3 separate regions of the Homo sapiens genome follow, and regions 1 and 2 are each linked to region 3. Evidence: promoter capture Hi-C in 16 types of primary human blood cells and fetal thymus (Javierre and others, 2016). All regions are on one chromosome and are shown on one strand. The core of a region is centred on a gene start or on the middle of the fragment in contact, and the rest is flanking DNA. Distances in the headings are between cores, read along the strand shown.

Region 1 (4,105 bases), core at 664-3,163, 250 kb before region 3:
CTGATTTCCTAAGAACAAGCTGATTGGAGGCTGTTGGCGCCGAGAAGCTATAAGCAGAACTAGAAGCAGAGCAGGCTATATGATTGATTAGGGGTGCATATTTGCCTTTCTCAGTTGGTCCTAAGTGGAAGTGGAGACAGAAATGAAGAAATCTGGCAGTTATTGACCAAGCCCTTACTGTTTGAGGCCAATTGCTGTAGAGGATTTGTTTGGCTTCCTTCCAGGGCTGGTTGCTACAGAGGTTATGGGACAAAGGTCTGTGTTTATATTTGATTCTGTCCATTGTCCTTTTGTATAGTCAGTCTCTCACTAGCGATGTATGACAGTTCCAGCTGCTCTGTATTCTCACCAGTACTTGGTACTGTTTGTTTTGGATGCAAGGGATGGTTTGTGGGGGAGTGGGGAGGGATTAGCCATTCTAATAGGTATACACTGGTATGCCGTTATGGTTTTAATTTACATTTTGCTAATGACTGACTATACTGAGCATCTTTTCAAGTGTTTATTTGACATTTGTATATCTACTTTGGTGAAGTATCTATTCAAACTTGTGTGGATTTTTTTTTTTCCTCGTTGTTGAGTTTTGAGTTATTTATATATTTGTGGAGCAACTCCAGCTTGGATGCTAAGCAGCTATGTTGACTTTTTTTTTTTTTTTTTTTTGTAGAGACAGAGTCTCATTTTGTCACCCAGGCTGGAGTGCAGTGGTGCGATCTCGGCTCACCGCAACCTCTGCCTCCTGGGTTCAAGTGATTCTCCTGCCTCAGCCTCCCAAGTAGCTGGAATTACAGGGATGCACCATCACGCCCAGCTAATTTTTGTATTTTTAGTAGAGACAGGGTTCACTATGTTCACACTGAGACCAGTATGCGCCAGACTGGTCTCAAACTCCTGACGTCAAGTGATCCACCTGCCTTGGCCTCCCAAAGTGCTAGGATTCCAGGCGTGAGCTACCGTGCCCGGCCTCATGTAGACTTTTGATTAACCACAGTTCAAGGAGCCTGTAAGATTTCCAGTTTACCTATTGTTCCTTGTGTAAGAGTATGTACTTACCATAAAGCCTGCCCTTCAGCAATTGTCCTATACATCCCTTCTGAAGCATGCACCCTTTCCGTATGATATATAAGGCCTGGGTCTAGGGAGTAGTGGAGAGGGGATCCACGATCTTGTCTCACCACCACCTGAGACACAGATGTGGCTTCTGTTCCTAAGTTTCTATTAAATGTTTCTGAGAAACTAGATATGTCAGCCTCTTTCTTCGGCCTCTCAGCTTCCTCAGACTTTTGCAGATAGGTTTGCGTAAGTCTGCCCAGCGTGGAGCAATATTTTAGATATTAAGTCCTTTTTTATTTATTTATTTTTATTTTTTTTTTGAGATGGAGTCTCACTCTATTACCCAGGCTGGAGTGCAGTGACGCAATCTCGGCTCACCGCAATCTCCACCTCCCCGGTTCAAGCGATTCTCTTGCCTTAGCCTCCCAAGTAGCTGGAATTACACGCATGTGCCACCATGCCCCGGCTAATTTTTGCATTTTTAGTGGAGGCAGGGTTTCACCATGTTAGCCAGGCTGGTGGTCTTGAACTCTTGACCTCAGGTGATGCGCCCTCCTCGGCCTCCCAAAGTGCTGGGATTACAGATGTGAGCCACTGCGTCCCGCCAGATATTATGTCCTTTGAAAGACGTGTGATTTACAAACATTTTCTCCCCACAAGCAGCATCTCAGAGTGAAGATGCCTTTTTATCTCTTAGCAGTGTCTTTAGCAGAGTAGTTTTGAATTATGATGAAGTACAATTCATCAATTTTTTTCATTAAGGATTGTGTTTTGCCTATGCCTAACAAAAGACCATAAAGATTCTCTCCTGTTTTCTCTAGAAAGTTTATGATTTCACACTTTATATTTAAGTCTGTGATCCATTGAGTTAAATTTTGTATGAGGTATGAAGAATGGGTCAAGTTCATTTTTTGCATATGAATATTCATATGCAAATATCATTCCAGCACCATTTCTTGATTCCTCCATTGAATTGCCTTTGCATCCTTGCCAAAAATCACTTCACCACACCTATGCCTATGTTTGGGCTATTTTTCTCCATGATCTACGTGCTTATCATTCCACCAATACTACACTGACTTGATGACTGTAGCTTTATAAGTATTGAAATCAGGTAGTACTAGTCTTGAAACATCGTTCTTCATTTCCAAAACTATTTTAGATATTCCATTACCTTAGCCTTTTGCTATAAATTTTGCAATCTGCTTATTGATATTGATAAAAATTATTAGCATAAATTCCTACTGTATTTTTGGCCGGGTGCAGTGGCTCACGTCTGTAATACCAGCACTTTGGGAGACTGAGGCATGAAGGTGACTTAACCCCAGGAGTTCGAGACCAGCCTGGCCAACATGGTGAAACTCCGTCTCTACTAAAAATATAAAAATTAGCTGGGCATGGTGGCGGGCACCTGTAATCCGAGCTACTCAGGAGCTGAAGCAGGAGGATTGCTTGAACCCAGAAGGCGGAGGTTGCAGTGAGCCAAGATCATGCCATTGTACTCCAGCCTGGACAACAGAGTGAGACTCTGTCTTAAAATAAATAATTAAAATCCTTTTTTTTAAAATTGGGATTGCATTGAATCTATATATATATATATATATATATATATATTTTTTTTTTTTTTTTTTTTTTTGAGACAGAGTTTCGCTCTTGTTGCCCAGGCTGGAGTGCAATGTCGCAATCTTGGCTCACTGCAACCTCCATCTCCCAAGTTCAAGTGATTCTCCTGCCTCAGCCTCCCAAGTAGCTGGGATTACAGGCATGCACCACCACACCTGGCTAATTTTTGTCTTTTTAGTAGAGACGGGGTTTCACCATGTTGGCCAGGATGGTCTCGATCTCTTGACCTCGTGATCCGCCCACCTCAGCCTCCCAAAGTGCTGGGATTACAGGCGTGAGCCACTGCGCCTGGCCGTGACTTCTGAGACTAGGTCAAATGCCATGCAATTCCTTTCACTTTGCTGCCTTGGGATCACTCTTGCTAACTCTGTGAGTGAGCCTTTGCTCACTCTTGGAACGGTCACCATGCTGTGAGGAAACCCAGGTGGCATGGAGAGACCATGTGTGGATGTCCCAGCCGACAGCCCTAACTCTAGATCCAGGTAAAAAGCCAGTACTGACCACCAGTATGACTTAGGAAGTCTTCCAGATGACTCCAGCCTCAGCCACTGTCTAACTACAACCACATGAAAGTCTCCAAGTAAGGATAATTTAGCTGAGCCCCTGTCAATTGTCAAAACTCTAAACGCTAATAGTAAAATAATGATTGATGTCTTCAGTCGTCATTTTGGAGTGATTCATTATGCAATAACTGGAACAGACATGCAGAAGTCAAAGACAAAGTAGAAGAAGGCCTGGAGAGATGAACTAAGTCACTCCTTGTCTCAAGAAGTGTTGGCCAGGCGCAGTGGCTCATGTCTATAATCCCAGCAGTTTGGGAGGCCAAGGCGGGTGGATCACCTGAGGTCAGGAGTTTGAGACCAGCCTGGACAACATGGTGAAACCCTGTCTCTATGAAAAAACTAAAAATACAAAAATTAGCTGGGAGTAGTGGTGCACACCTGTAGTCCCACCAACCGGAGAGGCTGAGACAGGAGAATTGCTTGAACCCGGGAGGTGGAGGTTGCAGTGAGCCCAGATCACACCACTGCACTCCAGCCTGGGCGACAGAGCGAGACTCCATCTGAAAAAACAAAACAAAGTGTTGGCGGAAACCACAGGCCCCCTTGCCTTACAGGAGACAGAAGCCTAGGGGATAAGGCATACCAGCTGCAAACAGGGCAGACATCCACCCAGTGGCACTCCACTTTGTGGATGCCAAGAGATGTGTGGTGGCCGGGCATAGTGGCTCAAGCCTGTAATCCCAGCACTTTGGGAGGCCAAGGCGGGTGGATCATGAGGTCAGGAGATCAAGACCATCCTGGCTAACACGGTGAAACCCCGTCTCTACTAAAATTACAAAAAAATCAGCCAGGCGTGGTGGCAGGCACCTGCAGTCCCAGCTACTCGGGAGGCTGAGGCAGGACAATGGCATGAACCCGGGAGGCGG
Region 2 (3,802 bases), core at 1,300-3,799, 150 kb before region 3:
GTGAAGGCTACCAGGAGGAAATGACACCCAAACAGTGACCTGAAGGACACGTAAGAGTTAGACAGGTAAAGAAGAGAAGAGCCGCCGGGTGCAGTGGCTCACGCCTGTAATCCCAGCACTTTGGGAGGCTGAAGTGGGTGGATCTCAAGGTCAGGAGTTCAAGATCAGCTTGGCCAAGATGGTGAAACCCTGTCTCTACTAAAAATACAAAAATTAGCCAGGCGTGGTAGCAGGTGCCTGTAATCCCAGCTACTTGGGAGGCTGAGGCAGAGAATTGCTTGAACCCAGGAGGCAGAGGTTGCAGTGAGCTGAGATCACACCACTGCACTCCAGCCTGGGCAATAGAGCAAGACTCCATCTCAAGAAAAAAAAAAAAAAAAAGAAGTGTGGTGGGATGGGAAGGGCAGCATGGATCTGTTTGGGATGCTAGTCTCAACCCAGCCTCATGGACTGACGTCTGAGCCCTGCAAGAGGAACCACAGGCAGAGGCTGAAGGAAGAGTCACTGTATAGAGCCTCTGGAAGGTCAGCAGGGCACAAACACCACAGCACAGCACCTAAATCCCCGGAATCAGTGTCACACGGGGGGCAGGGATCCCCCCATTTCTCAGGGGACACAGTGTGGTTTTGAGAGGCATTGAGAATCCCAAGGAACCCAAAAATGTGGCTCTGTATGACTTCAATCGTTTTTCTTTTTTCTTTTATTTTTTTGAGACAGAGTTTCGCTCTTGTCGCCCAGGCTGGAGTGCAATGGTGCAATCTCGTCTCACTGCAACCTCCGCCTCCCGGGTTCAAGCGATTCTTCTGCCTCAGCCTACCTAGTAGCTGAGATTACAGGCATGCATCACCACGCCTGGCTAATTTTGTGTTTTTGTGGGTTTTTTTGTTTTGTTTTTGCTTTCTTGGGTTTTGTTTTGTTTTGTTTTGTTTTGTTTTTGTTTTTGTTTTTGTTTTGAGACTACAAGCGCCCGCCACCGCACCTGGCTAATTTTTTTCTTTTCGTGCTTTTAGTAGAGATGGGGTTTCACCGTGTTAGCCAGGATGGCCTCGATCTCCTGACCTCGTGATCTGCCCGCCTCGGCCTCCCAAAGTGCTGGGATTACAGGCTTGAGCCACCGTGCCCGGTCTAATTTTGTATTTTTAGCACAGATAGGGTTTCACCATGTTGCCCAGGCTAGTCTCGAACTCCCGTCCTCAGGGGATCCACCCTCCGTGGCCTCCCAAAGTGCTTAGATTACAGGCGTGAGCCACAGCGCCTGGCCAATTTCAATTTTTTAAAATGTATTGGGGTTGGTTTGATGGCCCGGGATATATGCACTATATTGGTATCTGTTGCATGAGTACTTGAATACGTATTCTCCTGTCATTGGGTGGAATGATCTATAAGTATTCACTACATCCTGTTTGTTTATGACATTGTTGAGTTCTTCTATCTCCTTACTGGTTTTTGTCTAGTTGTTCAATCAATTGCTGACAGGTGAACCATGAACTATGAATTTAAACAAACCTGGTTTGAAACTGGACTCATCTGGTTACTAGCTGGGTGGTCACGAGCAGATTTAGAATTAGACTCTGGAGAAACTCTTCTGAGATCCAAACTTTACTGGTCTGACATGGAAATTACAAGTAGCAAACGTTCATATAGCGCTTACTCTGTGCCAGACTGTGTTCTAATCACTTGGCATTTATCAGTCTATTCCTCACACAACAAACTTAAGTCAGGTGTTTATTACCCCCCATTTTACAGATGAGAAAACTGAGGCACAGGGAGGTGAAGATAAAGTAACCAAGTAGGCTGTGAACAAACACAGGCAATCTGTCTCCAGAATATGCACTTTTAACCCCTTCGCCATTCCGCTTCTGGGAAAATGAGGCAATTTCCTGGGATAGTTAAGAAATGTTTGCTATGGAAGCCCTTCCTTCCTAGAAGCCTGTCTCTGTCTCGCTCTTTTTTTTTTCTTTTTTTTTTTTTCTTTTTTGAGACATACTCTTGCTCTGTCACACAGGCTGGAATGCAGTGGTGGGATCTCAGCTCATTGCCACATCCACCTCCCGGGTTCAAGAGATTCTCGTGCCTCAGCCTCCCAAGTAACTGGGGCTACAGGCACACACCACCACACCAGGCTAATTTTTGTATTTTTAGTAGAGATGGGGTTTCACCATGTTGTCCAGGCTGGTCTCGAACTCCTGACCTCAGGTGATCTGCCTGCTTCAGCCTCCCAAAGTGGAAGGATTACGGGCGTGAGCCACTGCGACCGGCCTCTCTCTGTCTCTTTGAAACAGGGTCTCACTCTGTTGCCCAGGCTGCAGTGCAGTGATGCAGTCTTGGCTCACTGCCACCCCAACCTCCCGGACTCAGGTAATTCTCCTCCTTAGCCTCCCAAGTAACTGGGACTACAGGTGCGCACCACCACACCCAGCTAATTTTTTGTATTTTTAGTAGAGACAGGGTTTTGCTATGTTGCTCAGGCTGGTCTCAAACTCCTGGCCTCAAGCAATCCTCCTGCCTCAGCCTCCCAATGTGCTGGGATTATAGGCACCAGCTGCCTCGCCCAGCTGGAGCCAGTCTCTCTTATACCAGGCATTGATGATTGGCCATGCAAAGAATCAGAAACACTCTGTCAAGTTTTCTTTGAAATACATGAAGGAACTTAAGGGAGACCCACAGGGCTCCAAGAGCTTCAGGTAAGATCACTACTGCCCACTTCACCACTATAATGGGAGATGGAATAGAACATGATAAAGTTTGCCGGGCACAGTGGCTTACGCCTGTAATCCCAGCACTTTGGGAGGCCAAGGTGGGTGGATTGCCTGAGGTCAGGAGTTCGAGACCAGCGTGACCAATATGGTGAAACCCTGTCTCTACTAAAAATACAAAAATTAGCTGGACATGGTGGTGCATGCCTGTAATCCCAGCTACTCAGGAGGCTGATGAGGCAGGAGAATCACTTGAACCTGGGAGGCGGAGGTTTCAGTGAGCCGAGATTGTGCCACTGCACTCCAGCCTGGGAGACAGAGTGAGACTCCGTCTCAAAAAAAAAAAAAGATAAAGTTTGAGGCTTAGGGGTCCACATCACCTGAGTTTAAATCAAGGCTCCCAAGTTAACTTCACACACTGGATAAGTGACTCAAGCTCTCCGTGTCTGTCTCCTCACCTGTAAAATGGGGTATTAACTGTACTTATTCCACAGAACTTGTGAGACCAAAGGCAATTAATAAATTAATAAATGCAAATAAATAATTTGCATTTAAATTATGCAAATAAATAATTAATAATTAATAAATGCAAATTCTTAGAAGAGTTCTCAGCATGATAAGTATTTAATAAATGGTATAAGTTGTTGTGTTATTACTATTGCAAAATAAGAGGTCAACCCTAAGCCATGGACTGCAACTACAACTACTTCCCACCTTCTGCAAAAAGAACATCATGCTTTACCTCCCTGTTAGTTGTGGGCACCCCAGAAGTCCACAGTGGCCAGGGCAGGCATCTTCACCCAGACTTACCCCAAAGGACTCCGTTCATCTCCATTTGGGTTCACTCTCCTTTCTCCTCTCCACCCTGCCCCAAATCCTTTCATTGCACCCTTGGAAACCTAAAGTATGTTCGCAAAACAAAATCCCCAAATCATCAAGCTCTTCTCTCAGTTTTGTTTGCCTTCTTGCTCTCATAGGAACCTGGCTCTTCCCGCAAAGACATTGCTCCCTTGCAACGCTCCAAGGAGGCAGCTATTTCCTTTTTCTCCCACCCTCCACATACCTGCAGTGAGGCAGCTGTCCCTTCCAAAACATTTCTCCTCTCT
Region 3 (2,500 bases), core at 1-2,500:
TGTTTGGTTCCCACCCGCTCCAGCAGAGCCAGACCAGGGAAGAAGAGGGTTTCCTGGCTACAGCCTCCCTGTGTGCAAGTCCTGCAAAGGGGTCTCCTGTTTGGCTATGAAATGAATATAGATAGATAGCTCACAAGCTGGCAGCCACCAGAGTCCCGTGGGGCTGAGCCTTAGAAAGGCTGGGAGGTCAGCAAGGCTGAATGAAGGGCAGTCCTTGCTTTCTGGAAGACTGGCACCTGAGAGCCTATGTGAACCCTTTCCTCCTGCTGACCCCTGGACTGCGGCCAGGCCTACACACGCCAGGGAACGGGCACACACCATTCTTGTGAAGTTCACAAACTGCAGATTGATCAGCAGGGGGAAGGGATCATAATGCCGTGGTGGCGGCAGCCTACTTTTTCAAAATCAATTTCCTACTGGAGATGGGTGGGAAATTGAAGTCGGTGCGAGCTAAGGCTGGATACACGGCGCGTAGGGGAGATCAGGCACTCGGTTGAAGTAGGCCCCGAGGAAGATGAGGCTGGAGCCCACGCTGAAGAGCACCAGAGCGGCCCAGAAGCAGATGTTGTCAAGGGCATTCCCCATGCGCACCCAGTCGGACACTTCCTGGGGAAGGGTCGGCACAGTCAGTAAAGAGGCAGCTGCAGGAGCCAGCGGCATGGGAGACAGTGGTGGGCCTCTGCCTCGCTCCACCCGCCTCTGGCTCCTGTCCCACCTCGCCGGTGGCCTCCTGATCTCTCGTGCTCTCGGCCACGAAGTTCACGGCATCCACACAGCAGCGGACCTCGGGGGCGGCGGCGCCCAGGCTCTGGCAGAAGGCAGCTGGCGGGGAAAACACCGGGGTGGGCCTTAGGAGCCTCCCCCCTGGCAGGCACCCCGCGCGGCCCCCCGGGCCAGGGCCACTGTGCTCACCCGTCCAGGTCCCCTGCCGGTGCCTCTGCCCCTCAAACACGAGCTCGCTCCGTGGCTTTTTCAGTATCAGCTCCTCCGCGCGGAGCAATAAGCCCACCGACGACGCCCGCCTTGGGGGCGAGGCGGCCCGGGGGGCCTCGGGCGGCGGCGGGGAGCCCAGGAGGCGCGGCAGCAGCTCCAGGAGAACCTGGGGCAGGGGCGGGGCTTAGGGGACGAGGTTAGTACGAAGCCCCACCCCGACCCGGGCTGCACCGCCCCCTCCGCGCTTACGTGGCGCAGCCGCGGGGACATGGCGTGGGTGGTGGGCGTCCGCTGGGACACGTTGAGCACGATGACGCAATTCATGACAATGAGCGTGGCGACCACCATGACGAAAATAAGGAACCTGAGGAGCCCGGAAGGCATGACATCACCGTTCCTCCTCCCAGCTACCGAAGGCGCCGCGCGCTGACCTCACAAACACGGCTTCTCCTGGTACGGGCTGGTTACGCCCTCCAGCTGCGCCCCCTACACGACGACAGACGCGTCCCCCAGCCCTTCTCCTGTCCTACCACTTGTGGCGGCCATGAAGGGGACCCCCAGCTCCCTGGACACCCTGATGTGGATCTACCACTTCCACAGCTCCACCGAGGTGAGGCTACGCCCGCCAAGGGCTGCACCTCGAGACCTTCTGGGTAGGTCTCCTGTTCGCCCCTGTGACCCCTGCCCTGCTACTCTACTGCTCTGCTCCTTCTCCAGGTGGCCCTCCAGCCCCCGCTTCTGTCTTCCCTGGAACTCTCCGTGGCCGCAGCCCATGAATATCTGGAGCAGAGGTTCAGAGAGCTGAAGTCCCTGGAGCCACCCGAACCGAAGATGCAGGGGATGCTGCCTGCCCCGAAGCCCACCCTGGGGCTGGTGTTGAGAGAAGCCACAGCCAGCCTCGTGAGCTTCGGCACCACCTTGTTAGAGGTGGGGTACTGGGGGGCTTAGGATACGCGGCGATCGGGTAGCGGGAACAAGGACCTCTGCCTCCCCGCTAACCCCTGTGCCCCCAATGCAGATCTCAGCCCTGTGGCTGCAGCAGGAGGCGCGGCGACTAGACGGCAGCGCGGGCCCAGCCCCAGACGGCAGGGATCCGGGTGCAGCGCTGAGCCGGGTAGCCCAAGCCGCAGGGCAGGGGGTTCGGCAAGCTGGGGCTGCGGTGGGCGCCAGCGCCCGGCTCCTAGTCCAGGGAGCATGGCTATGCCTGTGTGGACGGGGTCTGCAGGGGTCTGCCTCATTCCTGCGACAGTCGCAACAGCAGCTAGGCCTCGGAATCCCCGGAGAACCGGTGAGCTCAGGACACGGGGTGAGTTAGGGGCCAGAGGCGGCGGGGCTAGGGAGGCACTGAGCCGGACTGTCCCCCAAGAGAGCTACTCGGGAGACCTCCAGGTGACGTCCAGCAGCAGTGAGGAGGACGGCGGACCAGGGACTCCATCCCCGTACCAGCCCCACCCAGCGTCCGAATAAAGCCCAGGGCGGGGCGAGACAGCCAGAGCTTTTCCCGGGGTCTCTGGGTTTTGGCCACGCCCCCACCCTTCACACTGGCCACACCCCCGCGGGGGCTCCG

Evidence for each region. The method cuts DNA at HindIII sites, captures the fragments that hold promoters and counts their contacts. A CHiCAGO score of 5 or more calls a contact.
Region 1: a contact is called between a fragment that was not itself captured here and the fragment with the promoter of C17orf107 in region 3, in 1 of 17 cell types (M0 macrophages). The highest score is 6.1, in M0 macrophages.
Region 2: a contact is called between a fragment that was not itself captured here and the fragment with the promoter of C17orf107 in region 3, in 7 of 17 cell types (total CD4 T cells, M0 macrophages, monocytes and 4 more). The highest score is 6.3, in total CD4 T cells.

Annotation. Positions count from the first base shown.
Region 1 is chr17:4,648,703-4,652,807 of GRCh38, forward strand. All of the region lies in intron 2 of LOC105371499 (a long non-coding RNA gene), which reads left to right. Among named protein-coding and RNA genes, the nearest start is that of ALOX15, 9.1 kb to the left of the region's middle. RefSeq lists a silencer at 882-1,097. The HindIII fragment of the contact is 7,362 bases long and covers 1-4,105 here.
Region 2 is chr17:4,750,337-4,754,138 of GRCh38, forward strand. No RefSeq gene overlaps it. Among named protein-coding and RNA genes, the nearest start is that of CXCL16, 12 kb to the left of the region's middle. The HindIII fragment of the contact is 7,394 bases long and covers 1-3,802 here.
Region 3 is chr17:4,898,286-4,900,785 of GRCh38, forward strand. It overlaps C17orf107 (chromosome 17 open reading frame 107), which reads left to right and starts at 1,251. Exons shown (of 3, transcript NM_001145536.2): 1 at 1,251-1,543; 2 at 1,651-1,860; 3 at 1,952-2,500. The coding sequence starts at 1,478. The coding sequence ends at 2,248. It overlaps CHRNE (cholinergic receptor nicotinic epsilon subunit), which reads right to left. Exons shown (of 12, transcript NM_000080.4): 9 at 1,183-1,297; 10 at 913-1,099; 11 at 716-822; 12 at 1-606. The coding sequence ends at 451. RefSeq lists silencers at 848-997, 1,018-1,127 and an enhancer at 1,328-1,637. The HindIII fragment of the contact is 47,734 bases long and covers 1-2,500 here.